7 separate regions of the Homo sapiens genome follow, and regions 1, 2, 3, 5, 6 and 7 are each linked to region 4. Evidence: promoter capture Hi-C in human tissues and cell types (Jung and others, 2019). All regions are on one chromosome and are shown on one strand. Each heading gives the region's core, a stretch centred on a gene start or on the middle of the fragment in contact. The rest is flanking DNA. Distances are from core to core; before and after follow the strand shown. Region 1 has its middle 36 kb from the start of LINC02269. Region 2 has its middle 15 kb from the start of LINC02269. Region 3 has its middle 53 kb from the start of LINC02269. Region 4 holds the start of HAND2 (heart and neural crest derivatives expressed 2). Region 5 has its middle 120 kb from the start of LINC02269. Region 6 has its middle 84 kb from the start of LINC02269. Region 7 overlaps LOC105377543 (a long non-coding RNA gene).

Region 1 (2,700 bases), core at 26-2,525, 330 kb before region 4:
TATTCCTTCTGCCTATGCATACTTCATAGTTTCAAAATACCTTAGCCATCCTCAAGTATCACTAATAACACCTAGTAACACCAATCTTCTCTGAACTCCTGATCCTCCAATATAATATTAAATAGCAGTTCTGTGAATGGATATACTAAGCTCATTCCTAATGTTAGGGAGAAAGTATTCAATCCTCTACCATTGAGAAAGATGTTAGCTATAGATTTTCATAGATGCTTTTTTTAAAAAATCAGATTGCAGAAGTTGTCTTCTTTTCCTAGCTTTTCTAGAATGTTTATTATGAATGGTTATTGAGTTTTCTCAAATGAATTTTCTGCATTTTTAAGGTGATCTTTTGCTTTTGCTTTGTACTCTATCAATGTGGCCAATTACACAGATATATTTTCAAATATTGACTCAACCTTGCATTCCTAGGATAAACTTCATTGGCTAGGTTAAATTGATAATATTTGGGAGTATTTTTGGTCTATATTTATGGGCTATATTGGTCTGTAATGTCCTTTTTAAAAAATGTATTTGTGGCCGGGTGTGGTGGCTCATGCCTGTAATCCCAGCACTTTGGGAGGCCAAGGCGGGCGGATCATGAGGTCAGGAGTTCAAGACCAGCCTGACCAACATGGTGAAACCCCATCTCTACTAAGAATACAAACAAAATAAAATAGCCTGGCATGGTGGCATGCACCTGTAATCCCAGCTACTCGGGAGGCTGGGGCAGGAGAATCATTTGAACCCGGGAGGCGGAGGATGCAGTGAGCTGAGATGGTGCCACTGCACTCCAGCCTCAGTGACAGAGCGAAACTTTGTCTCAAAAAAAAAAAAGTATTTGTGAGGTATGTCACTAGGGTTGTTTTGATTTTATAGCATGAGTTGGAAGTGACTTACTATTCTGTCTTCTGAAAGAGTTTGTATACAATTGGTATTAATTTATCCTTAAATTTTGTATAGAATTCAGTGTTGAAACAATCTGGATACAAAGTTTTTTTTGTGAAAAGTTTTTTTATTATAAATTAAATGTCCCCAATAAATGCAGAACTACTCACATTTTCTATTTCTTCTTCAGTAAGTTTCGGTTAGTTGAAATTTTAAAGGAATTTGTCTATTTAATTTACACTCTCAAATTTGTTGTCATGAGGTTGTTTATGATATTTTATTATTTTTTACGCTTATAGGATCTGTGGCTATATTCCTTTCATTCGTAATATTGACAATTTGTATTTTCTTCCTTTTTTTTGGTTATTCAAGAAAAAGGAATGAATAGTTGATAACGATGAGGTAATGAAAGAAGACAAACTTTTAAAGAAGTTTAAAAGTGAAAAGAGAAACTAAATCACAAAGGTTAATGTTTGTTCATCATTTACTATGTGCCAGGCTGTGTACTAAATTCTTACCTTTGATCTCCACACTATAATTATATAAGTGGGTGACATGGTTTGTCTGTGTCCCCACCTAAATCTCATCTTGAATTGTAACTCCCACAATTCCCACGTGTCATGGGAGGAACACAGTGGGAGGTGATTGAATTATGGGGGCGGGTCTTCCCCTCGCTATTCTCATGATAGTGAATAAGTCTCACAACATCTGATGGTTTTTAAAAGAGGAGTTCCCATGCACGAGCTCTCTCTCTTTGCCTGCTGCCATCCACTTAAGACATGACTTGCTCCTCCTTGCCTTCTGCCATGATTGTGAGGCTTCCCCAGCCACATAGAACTGTAGTCCATTAAACATCTCTTTCCTTTGTAAATCGCGCAGTCTTGGGTATGACTTTACCAGCAGCATGAAAATGGATTAACACAATGGGTCTTACAAGTTTCACAGATGCATGAATTTAAGCTTTAAAAAATTAAGTGACTTGCTTTAAATGACTCAGTGAAGAAGCACTGCAACAAGTAAGAGAAATTAGAGTCTTAAAGAAATGTTTTTAAATAAACAAAGGAGTGATTTAATTTGAAAAAATACATGAAAACATTTTAAAAGGTAAATACACCAAATGTTATCAATGTTTTTCTCTCTATGGAGTAGTTTTTATTTTATTAAAAAATTTGTATTTTCCCTTCTACAATAAGCATAATCAAAAAAATTGTCTTTTATAAAAAGAAAACTGTTAAGACAGATAAAATTAATTATGTTTTCATGCAGGGCAGGAAGAAGCAGGGCAAAGTGCTACCATTTGAGGGACTGGGATCAAGAAGCAATAATTTATTCATTCAACAAATGCTTACTGAATTTCTACTTTGTTACAAGGAAGCGAAAAAAAGAGAATGAACAAAAGAAGACAGGATAATTAAGAAGACAGAAGCAATGAGCAATGAAGTAGAGAGAATTCCCATGAAGTGATCTCATTCTCATTAAAATAGAAAGTGAAGTCAGTGGGTAAATGTGAGGGTGGAGGTGAGTCTAGGACCTTGAGTATGTACACAAAAGTGGAAAAGATCACTGTGGTTTGCTTTGAAGCCCAGAAGCAAAAGTAGAGAGGAAAGAAAACAGAGGCTGTCCAGAGTCGAAGAGTGTCAAGATGAAAAGGCAAGGGTCAAGAAGATAAATGAATTTTGAAGCCAGATTGACCTTTCATTTTCTTAAAACTCCAATGTGGAAGTTACTATGGATGGGTGGAGATAAAAGAGAAGATCCTGGAGTTAAATTATAGGATGGGAGTGGAGGGTAGAATCCTGAAAAAAAAAACACTTCGAT
Region 2 (2,700 bases), core at 74-2,573, 350 kb before region 4:
TTGTGTTATTCTGAGAAACATTTATGAAACAACTGGATGCTTGGCACAGGTGTAAAAAGAAAAAAAAAAAAACCTCTAATTTGAGGCCTAGACCCCAGATAAGGCCTTTCTAGGTGGATTCCAAAAGAAGCAAGAGTCTTCAATAGCTCCCTTTCACCAACAAAATTAAATCCAAGATTCTTGATGTTCAAGCCCCTTGATCTGGCCCTTCCCAACACTCTGCTCCCAGCTCTTGCTTCTCTTTTTCTTACACTTACACTCCAGCAACATGTTTTTCCCATCCCCTACTTTTGTTCCTGTAGTCCCCTCAGCCTGAAAGCCTCTTCTTCTATTCTTTGCTCGGCTTGCTCTTAGGGATCCTTACAGTCTCTGCCTGGAACGTTTTCTCTGGCCCCCTGAATTAAGATACTCTGTCGGGGTTCTACTGCCCATGGGTCGCTGTCTCTTAATCACCTGTTAGTGTGACCATCTCACATAGTGAGTGAGTACCTTGAGGACAGGGACTTGGATGCATTTCTTGGGTCTCCTAAGCCCCTCTCAGAGTACCTGGTAAAGTGGATGCTGGATGGATTTTTAAGAATTTCTAAAAATGGAAGGAATGAAAGAATGAAACCATCATCAGTTCTTTTGTAAAACGTTACCAAATAATTTAAATTCTAGCAGAACCATAGTCCCTTCATGTAAGGTATGAAGCCATGATTTAACTGCGTATATCCAATAAGTCACATTAAATGTTTTTTTTCATTTCACCAGTCTAAATGGAGTTAGAACAAATGGCTGAGAACACAACAGGTATCATTCTTGAATGCAAAAACAAGACAAAGCACAAAATAGGATGACTACAGTGAGATGTTTTATTCTCCTTAGTTGAAAAGCTTAGAGTTGAAACTGGAGAAATATTAGAAATTGTACAAAATTAAAGATGGATTATTTTGACAGGATTAAACTTAGTAGAAGCCACTCTTTTTTATTTGCTACCAAATTGCGAGGTCTCACATTACTTGAGCTCTACCAACCTCTTTACTGTTACATTAGCTTGCTCCACTTTCCCCACGGCTGCTATGTACAATGCGAAGGTCATGCATTTGAGCACTCAGCCAAGGAGGTGATGGGGCCGAAATACAGCCCACATGCTGTTCAACAATCCATGTGCCCTGGTGCAGTCTGCACCCACTTTGACAAAAAGGTGCACAGAGACACTGAGTAGGCAAGCTGGGCTCTGACTCACTTCACCTCCTGTACTGATGCCACATGGACCTTCTCTCAGGCTCACCACAAAGCCTTTCACATATGCCTGTACCCCTGCCTGGAATTCTCCTTGTTCTCTTTAGCTCATCGTTCATATTTCAATTTGAGCCGCCTTTTATCAGGGAAGCCGAACGTCTATGACTGAGTAGGACAGTGCTCCTATGGTTAGTAAGCTTTCATCAAGCCATAAACCTCCCTGTCACATTTCCAGGTTGATGATTGTACAATCACTAGATGTACGGCTCTCTCACTATATTGCAAGCTCTATGAAGACAAGGATGGAGTCCATTTTTTACTGCTATTGTACCCCCAGAACACATGGCAAAGGTTAAATAAATGATTGTGGAATTAACAAATTAATTCACACAGAGCACATGGGGCACATAAATTTTGTTGAATGATTGAATTGCTGTATTTCACTCCCAAGTGATTTAGCTGATATTAAAAATAAAATAATAAAAATCAAGTATAATATTCTAATTCCTCTACACACTTTGGACATGATTGGCTTTTGATTTGGTTTGTTTCATCATTTCATAATGATCTTCATCTTCATCTTCAAGGTTTAGTGTTAGGGGAATAAATCAATACTTGATTTTAGCATCTTAAAGGTCAGAAACACAAAGTTTAGTTATTTAATCATCTGTCAAATCAGCAAAAGTTTAATGCTTTATGTACATGCTTTCTATACAATTTGTTGGAATAAAAAATTAATGCTTTATTAAATAGTGAAGATAATATGAACTTTCAATAATGCAGACAGGTTGATTATAACTGTAAACCACATGCTTATATACTTCGGACTTTTACAGCTTTTAATTTATCAAAGGAAATAATTAGCACACTTTGTGGCAGCTAGTGATGGAATTTATTCATTTGGAAGGCCATGGGTTTCCTGTCATTAAAACTACATCATGTCCTTCCTTTTCTATTAAACTTCCACTGAGGGCAGTAAGAAGTCACTAAAAGGAAATGAAGAGTCTTTTTGGCAATGTTTTTGTACAATGATTTAATACTCTTAAAAGATAGCAAACCCATAATGTATGCCAACAAGTATATTATATAAGATGAGGGGCCCAATTACCACATTATTTCCTTTATTTGAAGTTTCATCTGAGACTCAATTAACTGTGATTTGCAAACTCTTGTCAATAAATTTAGTTTCTTTTTACAGGTTAATGCATTTTTTTGTTTTCATTAGTAATGTTTCACTCTAGCAAAGGAATAGATTTAGATTCCATAACCACTGTATACAGTTTTATATGTCAAAGGATATTACTTTCCTCTCCACATGATCAATGGCATCTCATTAGCCAGAGAATCATTGTAGTTAAAGCTCACACATATTTTTTTTCTCACTGAAAGGATTTTCAGTGAGATTAACTACTAATTCTAATCTTTCTTCTGCTGAGATAGTACTAAGGTTTGATCTTGACTTTGTTCCAAATATTA
Region 3 (2,700 bases), core at 192-2,691, 310 kb before region 4:
GCTGAACAATATGCCCTTTAGTTCATCTCTCGCTTCTCCTCAGGCACCCTCAACATTCTGCCTGGAAATCTTAGCTGTCACTGAGATGATTAGGTTGATTTCCTCTTTTCCATGTTACTGCAAAGAACAGTCCTGCTAAACTTCCCACGCAATAACAGGACTCTCACTTCCCCCAGCTTCCAATAATATTTCCTTCACTTTCTTCTATGCCTTTACTGACAGCTCCTAAGGCCGTTAGGATTCTAACACTTTTCTGGAGACCCTTCCAATTTTTACTAAAATGCTCTTCGAGATCAAGCTCCTGTCTTCCACCCAGTACCAAAACCAATGCAACATGCTTTAGATTTTTGTTACAGCAGCACCTCACATCCAGGTGTCCAATTCTGTCCCAGTGTATTAGTCTGTTCTCATGCTGCTGATAAAGACATACCTGAGACTGGGCAATTTACGAAAGAAAGAGGTTTAATGAACTTACAGTTCCATATGGCTGGAGAGGCCTCACAATTATGGCAGAAGGCAAGGAATAGCTGGCCATGTCTTATGCGGATGGCAGCAGACAAAAAGAGAGAGCTTGTGTAGGGAAACTGCTGTTTTTAAAACTATCAGATCTCATGAGACTTATTCACTGTCATGAGAACTTCACAAGAAAGACCTGCCCCCATGATTCAATTACTTCCCACCAGGTCCCTCCCACAATATGTGGGAATTCAAAATGAGATTTGTGTCCCCACAGCCAAACCATATCATTCCACCCTTGGCCCCTCCCAAATTTCATGTCCTCACATTTCAAAACCAATCATGCCTGCCCAATAGTCCCCTAAAGCCTTAACTCATTTCAACATTAACTCAAAGTCAAGAGTCCAAAGTCTTATCTGAGACAAGTCCCTTCTGCCCATGAGCCTGTAAAATCAAAAGCAAGTTAGTTACTTCCTAGATACAATGGAGGCACAGACATTGGGTAAATACAACATTCCAAATGGGAGAAATTGGCCAAAACAAAGGGGATCCATGCTCCAGGCAAGTCCAAAATCCAGTGGGGGCAGTCAAATCTTAAAGCTCCAAAATGATCTCCTTTGACTCCATGTCTCACACCCAGGTCACGCTAATGCAAGACCTGGATTTCCATGGTTTTGGGCAGCTCCACCCCTGTGGCTTTGCAGGGTACAGCCTCCCTCCCAGCTGCTTTCACAGGCTGGCATTGAGTGTCTGCGGCTTTTCCAGGTGCATTGTGCAAGCTGTCAGTGGACTTACCATCCTGGGGTCTGGAGGACACTGAGCCTTTTCTCACAGCTCCACTATGTGGTGCCCCAGTGGGGACTCTGTGTGGGAGCTCCAACCCCACATTTCCCTTCTGTACTGCCCTAGTAGAGGTACTCCATGAGTGTCCCCATCCTTGCAGCAAAATTCTGCCTAGACAACCAGGCATTTCCAAACATCCTCTGAAATCTAGACAGAGGTTCCCTAACCTCAGTTCTTGACTTCTGTACACCTGCAGGCTCTACGCCACGTGGAAGCTGCCAAGGCTTGGGGCTTTCAACCTCTGAAGCCACAGCCCAAGCTGTACCTTGGCCCCTTTTAGCCATGGCTTGAGGGGTTAGGACACAGGGTACCAAGTCCTTAGGCTGCACAGAGCAAGGGGCCCTAGGTCTGACCCATGAAACCATTTTTTTCCTCATAGGCCTCCAGTCCTGTGGTGGGAGGGGCTGCCACAAAGATCTCTGAAATGCCCTGGAGACATTTCCCCCATTGTCCTGGCAATTAGCATTTGGCTCCTTGTTACTTAAACAAATTTCTGCAACCGGCTTGAATTTCTCCTCAGAAAATGGGCTTTTCTTTTCTATTGCATTGTCAGGCTGCAAATTTTCTGAACTTTTATGCTCTGTTTCTCTTTTAAAACTGAATGCTTTTAACAACACCCAAGTCAGCTTTTGAATGTTTTGCTGCTTAGAAATTTCTTCTGCCAGGTATCTTAAATCATCTCTCAAGTTCAAAGTTCCACAAATTTCTAGAGCAGGGGCAAAATGCCACCAGTCTCTTTGCTAAAACATAACAAGAGTCATGTTTCCTCCAGTTCCCAATGAATTCCTCATTTCCATCTGAGACCACCTCAGTCTGGACTTTATTGTTCATACCACTATCAACATTTTGGGCAAAGCCAGTCAATAAGTCTCTAGGAAGTTCCAAACTTTCCCACACTTTCCTGCCTTCTTATGAGCCTTCCAAACTGTTCCAACCTTTGCCTGTTACCCAGTTCCAAAGTTGCTTCCACATTTTCAGGTATCTTTCTAGTAGCGCCCCACTCCCTGTACCAATTTACTGTATTAGTCTGTTCTCATGCTGCTGATAAAGACATACCCAAGACTGAGCAATTTATAAAAGAAAGCGATTTAATGAACTTACAGTTCCACATGGCTGGGGAAGCCTCACAATCATGGCAGAAGGCAAGGAGGAGCAAGTCACATTTTAGATAGATGGCAGCAGGCAAAAAGAGAGAGCTTGTGCAAGAAAATTCCTATTTTAAAACCATCAGCTCTCTAACACTTATTCACTATCACTAGAACAGTACAGGAAAGACCTGCCACCATGATTCAATTACCTCCCAAAGGGCCCCTCTCACAACATGTGGGAATTCAAGACAAGATTTGGGTGGGGACACAGAAAAACCATATCACCCAGTTACTGTTGTTACATAACAAACCA
Region 4 (2,700 bases), core at 68-2,567:
CAGCCCGCGGGCTCCTGTTGACACCGTTTTCCACACCGAACTCCTTCGGGTGGAATCTGCATATACACATCAGCCTCCCCTCTCGGCTTGGGGCCAAGCCTGGGGTGATTTCAGCTCCTGCCATTTACCACCCGCCCTCGCCGCACGTGAGCCTTCTCAAGAAGCTCATGCCACACGGGCGCTGCGGCCCGGGTGCCCCGCGGCCCGGTGACTTACAAGTGGAGATCCATTTTCCGTTATAATGCGTTCAAGATCACCAAGGCCAGCAGTCTCAACATCCACGAGCCGTCCTCCCGGCCTGCCTCTTAAACTGGCGTTTAATGGTTCCCCTCCGATAACTAAACCTGCTTTCCACAGATGCCCGCTTTTATGAGGGAGGCAGGAATGCAGAGATATATTTATATGTTTGTTCATAAAAACTGGAAAATAAGCTCTGAACACGCCGTAAAAAATATTCAGTTACTTACCAAACAGGCTAGTTAAACCAGGGGAACACCGATACCAGCCACACTACAGATTCGGGGAATCGAGGTGCCCGCACTTCAAAATCGCCCAAGGTCTTCGTAGGGACTGGTGTCCCTGAAGGATGTGGAAATAACAGCATTTACAATCGGCTTGACATGTTCGCCCGGAGGACTCAGCCGTCATCTCCAAAGTTTGCCGCAATAACGTGAGCCACCCCAAACAGCTCTAACCGGGGTAACTTGGTGGGTAACTCAATAGCCACTGAGACCGGCGTTTCGAGCCTGTAAACGGGTCAAAGAAACACCCTTCTCCAGCCGCTCCTCGTCCCTGCTGGGGCAAAGAGCGCCAGCTCCCAGCCGCGCCTTTGTGGGGGCCCCCACCGCCCGTCACGAGGCTCCCGGCGCCCCTGCATAAAATTGTAAGAGGCTGCCTGCGTATATTTTCTTACCTCGATTACCTACAAAGCACTTCGAAAAGCAATACCTGCGTTTTCTTTCTTTCTTTCTTTTCAACCAGAAAAGAGAGCAGAGTGATACTGTACCTGGTTAGAGATTCTTCAATATTTGAGACTTGGGGGGAAAATATTTTAATAGTGAAGCATCTGTTAAACACTTGCATTATCCTCTGACTGATAAAAAAAGTTTTTTTAACCCTGCCCCCCCCCCCCGCCAAGTTTTAATTATCTTATGGTTATGAGGAGGTAGCCAATCCTGGAAGAGGACCTCGGCAATTAGCAACGTGAACATCAAAAAGTTTTATTGCCGAGAGCTCGAGGCGCCGCCCCTGCCGCCCCGGGATTGGCGTGAGGAGCCTCTGACGACATATATTAACCCGAGCGGCCCTAAAGATGTAGCTGTACATGGAGATCTTGCTGGGAAAATCCGCTTGCTCCCCTCACGTCGTCCAGCCCAGGAGAACCACCGCCGTCACCCCGGAGCTTCCTCGGCCACCGCGCAGAGCCCTCCGAGAGCCCGAGCCGCGGTCTTCGAGCTCCAAGGCTCATTCAGGGCCCCAGATCCTTGCCCCGAAAGGAGAGGATCTGAGAAAATGGATGCACTGAGACCTCTCTGAAAACCCTCCGAGAGAGCGCGAGAGGAGCGAGGACACGTTACTCGCAGCTAAAATCACATTTAAGGACCAAAACAACAACAACCAAAAATTTCATTAAAACAATAAGCGCCCAAGAACCCAGATCGGGCTGGTGGGGGGAGGGGAAGAGGCGGGAAGGGGAGGGTCGCACGGAGGTAGCTTTGCAGTGAGCAGTCGACCCCGCCGCCCCCCGGCACAGCTGGACCGGCTCCTCCAGCCGCGGCTCAGACTCGCCCCTGGATTCCGGGTTAGCTTCGGTGCCAGGACCGCGGCCCGGGCTTGGATTCCCGAGACTCCGCGTACCAGCCTCGCGGGAGCCCCGGCACCTTTGTATGAGCACGAGAGGATTCTGCCTCCGCGCAGCAGCCCGGGAAGCAGGAGCCGAAGCGCGGGCCGTGGAGCAAGGCGGGAACCGGAGGCGGCGGCGGCGGCGGCCAGGGGCGCACGGTGCCAGGACCAGCTCGCCGCGCCCCATGGGGAGCCGGCGGCCGCAGCGCTGCTGAGGCGGGCCCGGCTGGCCAGGCGGGGGGACGGGGCCCGGGCTGCAGCAGCCCCCTCTGCGGCTGCCGGGCGGGCCCGGGCGCCCGGGGGCTGGGGGGTGGGGGGTGGGGGAGGACGCCGAGCGCTGAGGCAGGGGCCCGGGCCGAGGGCGCGGCGGGGCTGCGCGCACGCTGGGGCGCGTGGAGGGGCGCGGAGGGCGAAATGAGTCTGGTAGGTGGTTTTCCCCACCACCCGGTGGTGCACCACGAGGGCTACCCGTTTGCCGCCGCCGCCGCCGCAGCTGCCGCCGCCGCCGCCAGCCGCTGCAGCCATGAGGAGAACCCCTACTTCCATGGCTGGCTCATCGGCCACCCCGAGATGTCGCCCCCCGACTACAGCATGGCCCTGTCCTACAGCCCCGAGTATGCCAGCGGCGCCGCCGGCCTGGACCACTCCCATTACGGGGGGGTGCCGCCGGGCGCCGGGCCCCCGGGCCTGGGGGGGCCGCGCCCGGTGAAGCGCCGAGGCACCGCCAACCGCAAGGAGCGGCGCAGGACTCAGAGCATCAACAGCGCCTTCGCCGAACTGCGCGAGTGCATCCCCAACGTACCCGCCGACACCAAACTCTCCAAAATCAAGACCCTGCGCCTGGCCACCAGCTACATC
Region 5 (2,700 bases), core at 8-2,507, 490 kb before region 4:
ATCACAAGTAAGTGAGAAAAATGAAGCTTTTAATTTTTATATGGTTAAAATGATCAGTGTTAATTTTTTCATGACTACCGGATTTTGTATGACAGTTAGAAAAGTCTTTCCCAATCTGAAGTTATAAAAAAACTAGTCCAGGGTTTCTGTCTCATGTTCATTAAAAAAAAATAAATTTATTACTGGTGTTAGAACAATTAGCTAGCATCTGGAGTAAGTTAGCATTGCACATCTTACACCAGAATAAATCCCAAATTGATTAAAGGTTGAATTTAAAAAATAAGACCATGTAAGTACAAGAAAATATCATTGAATTCTTTTATGTCCTTGGAATGAGGAAGACCTTTCTTAATAAAATACAAAATCTAGAAGTCACTAAAGATGAAAAGGATAATTTTAACTACATAAAAATCAAGAAATTCTGCATGGAAAAAATACTACAAGCAAACTCAAAAGATAAACACAAAATCGGTGGTGGTGGTAGAGGGTTGATTGTAATTCATGTCACCAACAAAGGCTAATTCCCAAATATATAAATAACTTTTAGTAATTGAGATAAACTAACAACCTCCCCCAAAACAGTTAAGATCATCCACAGATAACTACATAAACAACCCACAAACATAGCAAAAGAAGCAACACCTTAACAGTAATGTGAGAAATGCAAATGTTACTTAAACAGAGGTATGATATTTTACATATTTTATTAGCAAAAACCCAGAGGTTGACATATTCTTCTGGCAAAACTGTGGGGAAACTAGTATCCTCATGCATTGTTTTTAGGATTCCAAAATGGAACAACTCCAAAGGAAGGAAATTTGATACTATTTACCTAAATGCATTTAACTTTTCTTAGTAATTCCACCACTGGAACATCATCCTACAGATGCACATGGGTATTTAAGAAGTAACGTATATTAAATATTATTAATTGCACGATTGTTTACAGCACTAAGAAGTTGGAAACTGCTTAAGTATCCAACAATAGGCACTGGTCCCAGAGATTCTGGTGTATCCACACTACACAGGCTTAGGCAGCAATAAAAAAAAAAAAGGATCTTTTGGTACTAAAATAGTCAGGTCTCTAACATTTTTTATTAAGTAATTAAAGAAAGCAATAGTACAATATTTATAGTAAGCTATCTTTTGTATAAGAAAGGAGAAGATTATATATATACATTTGCTTATATATTTATAAAGTATTAAAAGAATACACAAAAAAACTAGTAAATCTGCTTATATACAAGGGAGTGGATGGGGACAGATGTAGAGGTCTTCTCTCTGTATGTATTTATGTTGTTCTGATTTTTGAGCCATGTGAGCACACCTCTTCAAAAATAACATACATGTGTATATGTATATACAAAGTATACATAATTTTAAAATTCTAGATTCAGAATGTCTTTCTGGAACTCTGAATACATTTATGAATAAATTCCTCTATTCTCTTCTAAAATCTGGTTGGTAAAAGTCTAATGCAGTCTGATTCTTGATTCTTATTTCTTAGTAGGCAATTCTTTTTCTCATTCTCCATCTCTCCCTCTCTCTTTTCCCTTTCCATTCTCTCTTTTTGGAGGCTTGTCTAATTTTTTCCTTTTTTTAATTACGAAATTTCATCAGGATGAATGTGCTCAGCATTTTGAGTTTTCTCTCAATCTAAATATGAGTGAATGTTTTTTAAGTTTGGAGTGTTTTTTTTTACTCCTAATTATTTGATTTTTTTTTCTCTTTACATTCTGGAAGATTCCCATGCCTTTATCACCTACTTCACCAAAGCATGATTCTTATATGTAAATACAGCTTAAGTATGTGAATGATTCCCAAACAGACTGTACATTGCTGGGAGAAAAAATTAAGAGATCTAAACAAAAGAGGTTGTATTCACATTATGGAATTTATAGCCAAGATATATGTTCTTTTAAACTTCACACTCCCTACTATTTATCATCTCCTCCCCAAAAACCCAAAGATCTCTTTCATTAAAAGGCAATAAAAATGTAGGGAAAGCACCTAAAAATAGCTCTCATGTTTCTTTTGACTGGCTTTCCCAAAGATGTATAAACTAAGAACATATAAGACAAATGTTTTCTACTGAAACTTCACATACAAAAATCCTGCACATTTATCACAAATACGGGAAAAATCTCTAAGTAGGAATGGATAAGAGCAAAGTCAGTTAAGAATTATCTACCATACAACTCCTTTTCTAGCATTTTGGAGGAAATACAGGAAATGTTTTATCTAATATTCTATATAATTATAATAAAATTTTGGAATGTTCCAACGTATTCAAAAAATTAACATAATTGATTTCATATTTGAAGCCAGAAGAAAAGTGGGCAAATGGCAGTGATTTGGCAGTTCCTACTCTTAACACTGAACTGCCTTTGTGCTAGTTTCGGTTAAGTCTATTAAGCTTATTAAACTTAATGCTTATTGTTTTCTTTTAACAGATATGTTAAGAGGCTTCAAGTTTTTACTACAATAGTATCTTCCTTTTAACTTTGGGGTTATATTAGTTTCTTTCAGGTTGACCTGATACTCCGTAAGTGAACATATCATTGAATAGCCGATCCATTCATTTCATATATGTTATTATTTAATAGACTACACAATGCAGTACAGTGCACTGCCTTGACTAATGTATGTACTTTCTCCCTTCCTGGATTATGAAGAAGTTCACAGTCATGCATTTTCACT
Region 6 (2,700 bases), core at 116-2,615, 280 kb before region 4:
TTCTCTCTTCTTTTTTTACTTTCTCAAAATGAAAGTTTTGGTTATTGATTTAAGATCTTTCTTTTTTAATCCAGACGTTTACAGCTCTAAGTTTTCCTGTAAGCACTGATTCAGTTGCATTCTATAAAGTTTAGTATACAGTGAGCCCTGAAACAACACAAGTGTTAGGGGTGCCAACCCCCTGCGCAGTAAAAATTCATGTGTAAGTTTGACTACCTGAAAACTTAACTACTAATGGCCTACTGTTGACCAGAAGCCTTACCGATAACATAAACCATTCATTAACACATATTTTATGTTATGTGTATTATGTACTGTATTCTTACAATAAAGTAAGCTAGAGAAAAGAAAATATTATTAAATTGTAAGAAAGAGAAAATATATTCACTATTCATTAAGTGTCAGTGGATCATCATAAAGGTCTTCATCCTTGTCGCTTGCACATTGAGTAGGTTGAAGAGAAGGAGGAAGAGAAGGGGTTGGTCTTGCTGTCTCAGGGGTGACGGCAGCACAGGAAACTCTGTGTCTAAGTGGACCCATGCAGTTTAAACGCGTATTGTTTAAGGATCAACTGTATTGTGTTTTTTGTTTTCATTTATCTCAAATGAATTGTTTTTAATTTGCTAATTCCTCTTGTGATTTCTTCTTTAATATGCACTCTTTTGTTTCTGGTTGCTTTGTTCATCACTATGTCTGGTGAGATTTATATAAGTTGCTGCTTATAACAACAGTTTATTATTTTTATAGGTATTTCATATTGTTTAATGAGTATATTGCAATTATCCATTTTACTGTTGAAGGCACTGGTTTTTTTTTTCAATTTTTCTCTTTTAAGTAAAATTCCCATGTGTTTTGGTGTACAAACAAAGCCATTTGTCTTGGATATATTTTTCAGAGTGAAAATACTCAAGTTAAGCTTAGTTCTAATGCAATGTCATGAGTCTATGATTCCTATTGTGGAACTCAATAGATTGAATTCTAAGTAAAAAAGAAGTCATACGAGTTGCTGTACATAAAGTAGTTGGAAGGTTTTATCTAAATGCTTCTACTTTACTTGCTTAATATTTTGGGGGCATAATGCAATTAAGTTTTTATATGTATGTGTAATTGGTCTGCTCTTGTGAGAGTTTTGGGTGGGTCTTTATTCTTAGAGTTTTCATTTTTTCATTATGTTCAACTATTTTAAATAGTCAAATTAACTTTATAAACTTAAAAGTGAGCAGTGCAATACATGCTTTTAAGTTTGATGCTAGATTGAAAGAAAGTGAAGAAAGGAGCTTGGGTTAACAGATAGATGCTGGTTTTATTTTTAATCATTGTCCATCTGACATGATAAAATATTAATAGACTTATGGGATAAATATTCAGAGTAGTAAAAAATATTAGAACAAGAGTGCAATATCAATAAACATAACAAGTTTGATATATGAGGTAATTGGATCTTATGTTTACATAAAAGCAACAGCAATATATCAAAGATATATCTTCAAACATACTTATAGAAAGCATATATGTGAAAATATGAATTTAACACTCACTTTGCCCTGAAGACCAAGGTGCACTTTAAATGTAATGAGTTGGGAGCAAGAAAAGTTCTAGTTTCCTATGTTTTCCTGTTGAAAATAATATGAATGTGAGTGAAAGTTTCAAGTTTCAGTGTATCTGAAAGTTCATTTAGGTTCCACTACAAAGTAAGCAGATCTCTAGAGATGAGAGCTGATAGAAGGAAGCATACAATTAAGGCTACCCCTAAGTTATCTTAATGATTGCAACTTTTTTTCAGAAGCAACCCTTCAGGAAAAGTCTCTATCTAATCACAAAATCCAAATGGTCTCTTTTCTTGTACTCTTTTCTTCGTGACCAGGAGTGTGTGTGGGAAAATAACCAAAGTGTTCCTAGGAAGCAGATCACTTAGTAGAGAAAAATAAGTCTTTTCAGGCTACCTTCATATTCTTACACTCTCTTGTTTCCTTTAGGATTATTTTGAAGACACGTCTCACACATTCATTAAGAAGTAATATACTTAATGTTTTACTTTGCATTTGTTAATAATTTTAGTGTTTCCCTTAAAAAGACTTTTGAAATTTGCCCTGGATTGCAGCTCATTATTTGGTAATTACGACTGAATAAATTGTATTCCAGTCTTCACTAATTTCATTGGGTTTTCTACTATAAATGTATTTTCTGGAAAAAAAAATGTAGAATAAATGAAAAAAAGAAAGCAACCCAGGGAAGACAGAAATTTTAAATTTACCTAAAGGCAGACCAGCAAGGGTAGCTTTCTAAAACCTTCTTCTCTCAGCCATGGCACAGAGTCTTTATGAGGACATGATATAAAAATGCAGTTCACGATCAACAAGTCTTAATAGTAGTTCTGTTCTTAAGAGGGGTAAATGAATAGACTTTGAGATACACAATTTTTTTTTATTAATTGCCTATTACATAGATAACAAATTTTGTTAAAACATTTATTCTTAAATCCAATAATGTTTCATCTAACCAAGTATGAGATGATAAGACACATCATCATTGTTGTTGCCATGTATTTTATTATAACCTTCTCTGTAATTATCAACAATGGCATTTGTTTATATCATTAGAAAATATTAGAGAAAATAAAAGTAATAAATATATTAATAATAATAAGCATTGGTTTTTATTGCCAATATCTGTGTGTTTTTAGAGTGTTAATGTTTATGC
Region 7 (2,700 bases), core at 148-2,647, 440 kb before region 4:
ACCCTACACACACAGGCACTATTGTTGCCACAGTATGTCTATGCCCTGGATTCTAGCAACACCACAGCTGCATGCATATCAGCACGACAGATCCAACACCAAGAGAGACTCCCTCAGCTAGAATTATTTCCCATAAGGGAGAGGAGAACAGAAAAATCCCAGCAGACTTTGCCAAGGACCCCAACAACTCTTGCAGCTGCAACCACCACCGACATCTGCAACCTTGGTTGCCAAGGACCTTCACAGCCTTTGCTCACATTGACATTGATGGAATTGCGAGGCGGCTGCACTGCTGTCCCCAACCCAGAAATGGAAGTGGTGCACCTCATTTAGTTGGCACCCTTGTGGCCATCCAAAGATGACAGTCTTTTTCCACTGAAGCCAACCCAAAAGGAAGAGGTGACTGCTGCTTCAAATGTGAAGATATCAATGCAAAGCCACTAGAAGCATAGAAAAAAATGAAAACATGACATTATCAAAGGAACACAATAATTTTTCAGTAACTGACTCCAAAGAAATGGGGATATATGAAATGTTATTCCTTTGTTATTAACTGAAAATAACTCAAAACAATTATTATAACCAAGCTCAGCAAGATAAAAGAGAACACAGACAACTCAATAAACTCAGGGAAAAAAATTATATAGCAGATGCACAAAAGATACAGAGAAAGGAATCAAAGTATACCACTACAAAAAAATAATCAATTCACGAAAGAAGACAGCAAGAGATGAAGAAAGGGACAAAGGAACTACAAAATAATTAGAAAATAATTAACAAAATTGCAGAAATAAGTTCTTACCTATGAATAATTACTTAAAATGTATATGGAATAAATTAATCAAAATACAAGAGCGGCCGAGTGGATTAAATAAATGAGACTCAACTATATGCTGCTTACAATCATTTTAGCTTTAAGAATACTGACAGGTTAAAAATGAAGGAATGGAAAAAGATATTCCATGTAAATGGAAACCCAAACAGAGCAGAGCTAGCTATGCTTATGACAGCCCAAATAGACTGTAAGTCAAAAACTGTCACAAGACACAAAAAAGCTTATTATATAATTATAAAGAGGTCAATCCATCAAGAAGATAAAACAATTGTAAATCAGTATGTACCCACCATGGAGCACCTAAATATATAAAACAAATAATAATAGAAATGAAGAGAGAAATAGAAAGCAATGCAAGTATAATAGGAAACTTCAACACACCACTTTGAACAATGGATAGATTACTCAGACAGAAAACCAAAAAAAGAAAAATGAAACATTGAGCTTGAACTACACTTTAGACCAGATGGACCTAACAGACATATACAAAACATATGTAAATATCCAACAGCAGCTGAACAAACATCTCAAGTGAACATGGAACATTAGGATAAATAAGTTAAGTCACAAAACAAGTCTCAACAAATTTAAGAAGATTGAAATCGTATCAAGTATCTTTTATAATCACAGTGGTATGCCACTAGAAATCAAGAATAGGAAGACAATTGAAATATGGAGAAATATGTGGAAATTAAACAACAACCTCTTGAACAACTAATGTGTCAAGGAAGGCAGAAAAAGGTAAATCAAAAAATATGTTAAGACAAAAATGGAAATACAACATGCCAAAAAGTATAAGAAACAGCATAAGCAGTCCAAGAGGGAAGTCTATAGTGATAAATGTTTACAGTAAGAAAAAGAAATATCTTAAATAAACAATTATACTTTACACCTCAAGGAACCAGAAGAAGAAGATCATACTAAGCCCAAAGTTAACAGAAAGAAGTAAATAATAAAGATTAGAGCAGAAGTAAATGAAATTGAAATTTAAAAAGATAGAAAATATGAATGAAAATTGATCGACCAGATTTTAAAAATTGACAAAATTTTAGCTAGACTAACCAAGAATAAAAGAGATATGACTCAAAAAAGAAAGAAATAAAATTATTTATTTATTTATTTTATTATTATTTTTTGAGATGGAATCTCATTCTGTCACCCAGGCTGGAATGCAGTGGTGTGATCTTGGCTTACTGCAACCTCCACCTCCTGGGTTCGGGCAATTCCCCTGCCTCAGCTTCCAAAGTAGCTGGGACTAAAGACATGTGCCACCACGTCTGGCTAATTTTTTGCATTTTTTCAGTAGAGACGGGGTTTCACCATGTTGACCAGGGTGGTCTAGAACTCCTGACCTCAAGTGACCTGCCCACCTCAGCCTCCCAAAGTGCTGGGATTACAGGTGTGAGCCAATGTGCCCAACTGTAAATTTATAAATAAAAGGAGACATTACAATGATAACACAGAAATACAAGGGATTATAAGAGACTACTATGAGAATTTTTATGCCAAAAAATTGTTTAACCAAAAAATCGATAAACTTCTGGAAACATACAACTTACCAAGACTGAATCATGAAAAGATGGAAAATCTGAACAGCCCTATAACAAAGAGACTGAATCAGTAATCAAATACCTCCCAAAAATGAAAAACCCAGGACAAAATGGTTTCACTGGGAAATTCTACCAAACATTTAAAAAATTAACACCACCTAAAACTTTTTAAAAATTGAAGAGAAAGGACCATATTCAAACTCATTTTATGAGGCCAACATTATTCTGATACAAAAGCCAAATAAGAGCACTACAAGAAAAAAAAAATTAAAGGCCAATATGTCAGATGAACATAGACGCAAAATCCTCAAGAAA

What was found. The method cuts DNA at HindIII sites, captures the fragments that hold promoters and counts their contacts. A contact is called where the count stands out against the background at its distance.
Region 1: a fragment that was not itself captured here is called in contact with the fragment with the promoter of HAND2 in region 4 in 2 of the 25 tissues and cell types used here (H1 embryonic stem cells and mesenchymal stem cells).
Region 2: a contact is called between a fragment that was not itself captured here and the fragment with the promoter of HAND2 in region 4, in 1 of the 25 tissues and cell types used here (heart left ventricle).
Region 3: a fragment that was not itself captured here is called in contact with the fragment with the promoter of HAND2 in region 4 in 2 of the 25 tissues and cell types used here (H1 embryonic stem cells and spleen).
Region 5: a fragment that was not itself captured here is called in contact with the fragment with the promoter of HAND2 in region 4 in 3 of the 25 tissues and cell types used here (heart right ventricle, lymphoblastoid cells and stomach).
Region 6: a fragment that was not itself captured here is called in contact with the fragment with the promoter of HAND2 in region 4 in 1 of the 25 tissues and cell types used here (dorsolateral prefrontal cortex).
Region 7: a fragment that was not itself captured here is called in contact with the fragment with the promoter of HAND2 in region 4 in 3 of the 25 tissues and cell types used here (H1 embryonic stem cells, aorta and mesenchymal stem cells).

What each region holds. Positions count from the first base shown.
Region 1 is chr4:173,859,976-173,862,675 of GRCh38, reverse strand. No RefSeq gene overlaps it. Among named protein-coding and RNA genes, the nearest start is that of LINC02269, 36 kb to the left of the region's middle. The HindIII fragment of the contact is 3,563 bases long and covers 1-2,700 here.
Region 2 is chr4:173,880,567-173,883,266 of GRCh38, reverse strand. No RefSeq gene overlaps it. Among named protein-coding and RNA genes, the nearest start is that of LINC02269, 15 kb to the left of the region's middle. The HindIII fragment of the contact is 3,094 bases long and covers 1-2,700 here.
Region 3 is chr4:173,842,485-173,845,184 of GRCh38, reverse strand. No RefSeq gene overlaps it. Among named protein-coding and RNA genes, the nearest start is that of LINC02269, 53 kb to the left of the region's middle. The HindIII fragment of the contact is 4,048 bases long and covers 1-2,700 here.
Region 4 is chr4:173,528,846-173,531,545 of GRCh38, reverse strand. HAND2 (heart and neural crest derivatives expressed 2) reads left to right here and starts at 1,317. Exons shown (of 2, transcript NM_021973.3): 1 at 1,317-2,700. The coding sequence starts at 2,257. It overlaps HAND2-AS1 (HAND2 antisense RNA 1), which reads right to left and starts at 1,175. Exons shown (of 5, transcript NR_136196.1): 1 at 1,007-1,175; 2 at 468-579. The HindIII fragment of the contact is 12,639 bases long and covers 1-2,700 here.
Region 5 is chr4:174,019,986-174,022,685 of GRCh38, reverse strand. No RefSeq gene overlaps it. Among named protein-coding and RNA genes, the nearest start is that of LINC02269, 120 kb to the right of the region's middle. The HindIII fragment of the contact is 3,426 bases long and covers 1-2,700 here.
Region 6 is chr4:173,812,364-173,815,063 of GRCh38, reverse strand. No RefSeq gene overlaps it. Among named protein-coding and RNA genes, the nearest start is that of LINC02269, 84 kb to the left of the region's middle. The HindIII fragment of the contact is 4,331 bases long and covers 1-2,700 here.
Region 7 is chr4:173,970,074-173,972,773 of GRCh38, reverse strand. The region is part of intron 1 of LOC105377543 (a long non-coding RNA gene); the gene reads left to right. The region is part of intron 2 of LOC105377544 (a long non-coding RNA gene); the gene reads right to left. Among named protein-coding and RNA genes, the nearest start is that of LINC02269, 74 kb to the right of the region's middle. The HindIII fragment of the contact is 6,623 bases long and covers 1-2,700 here.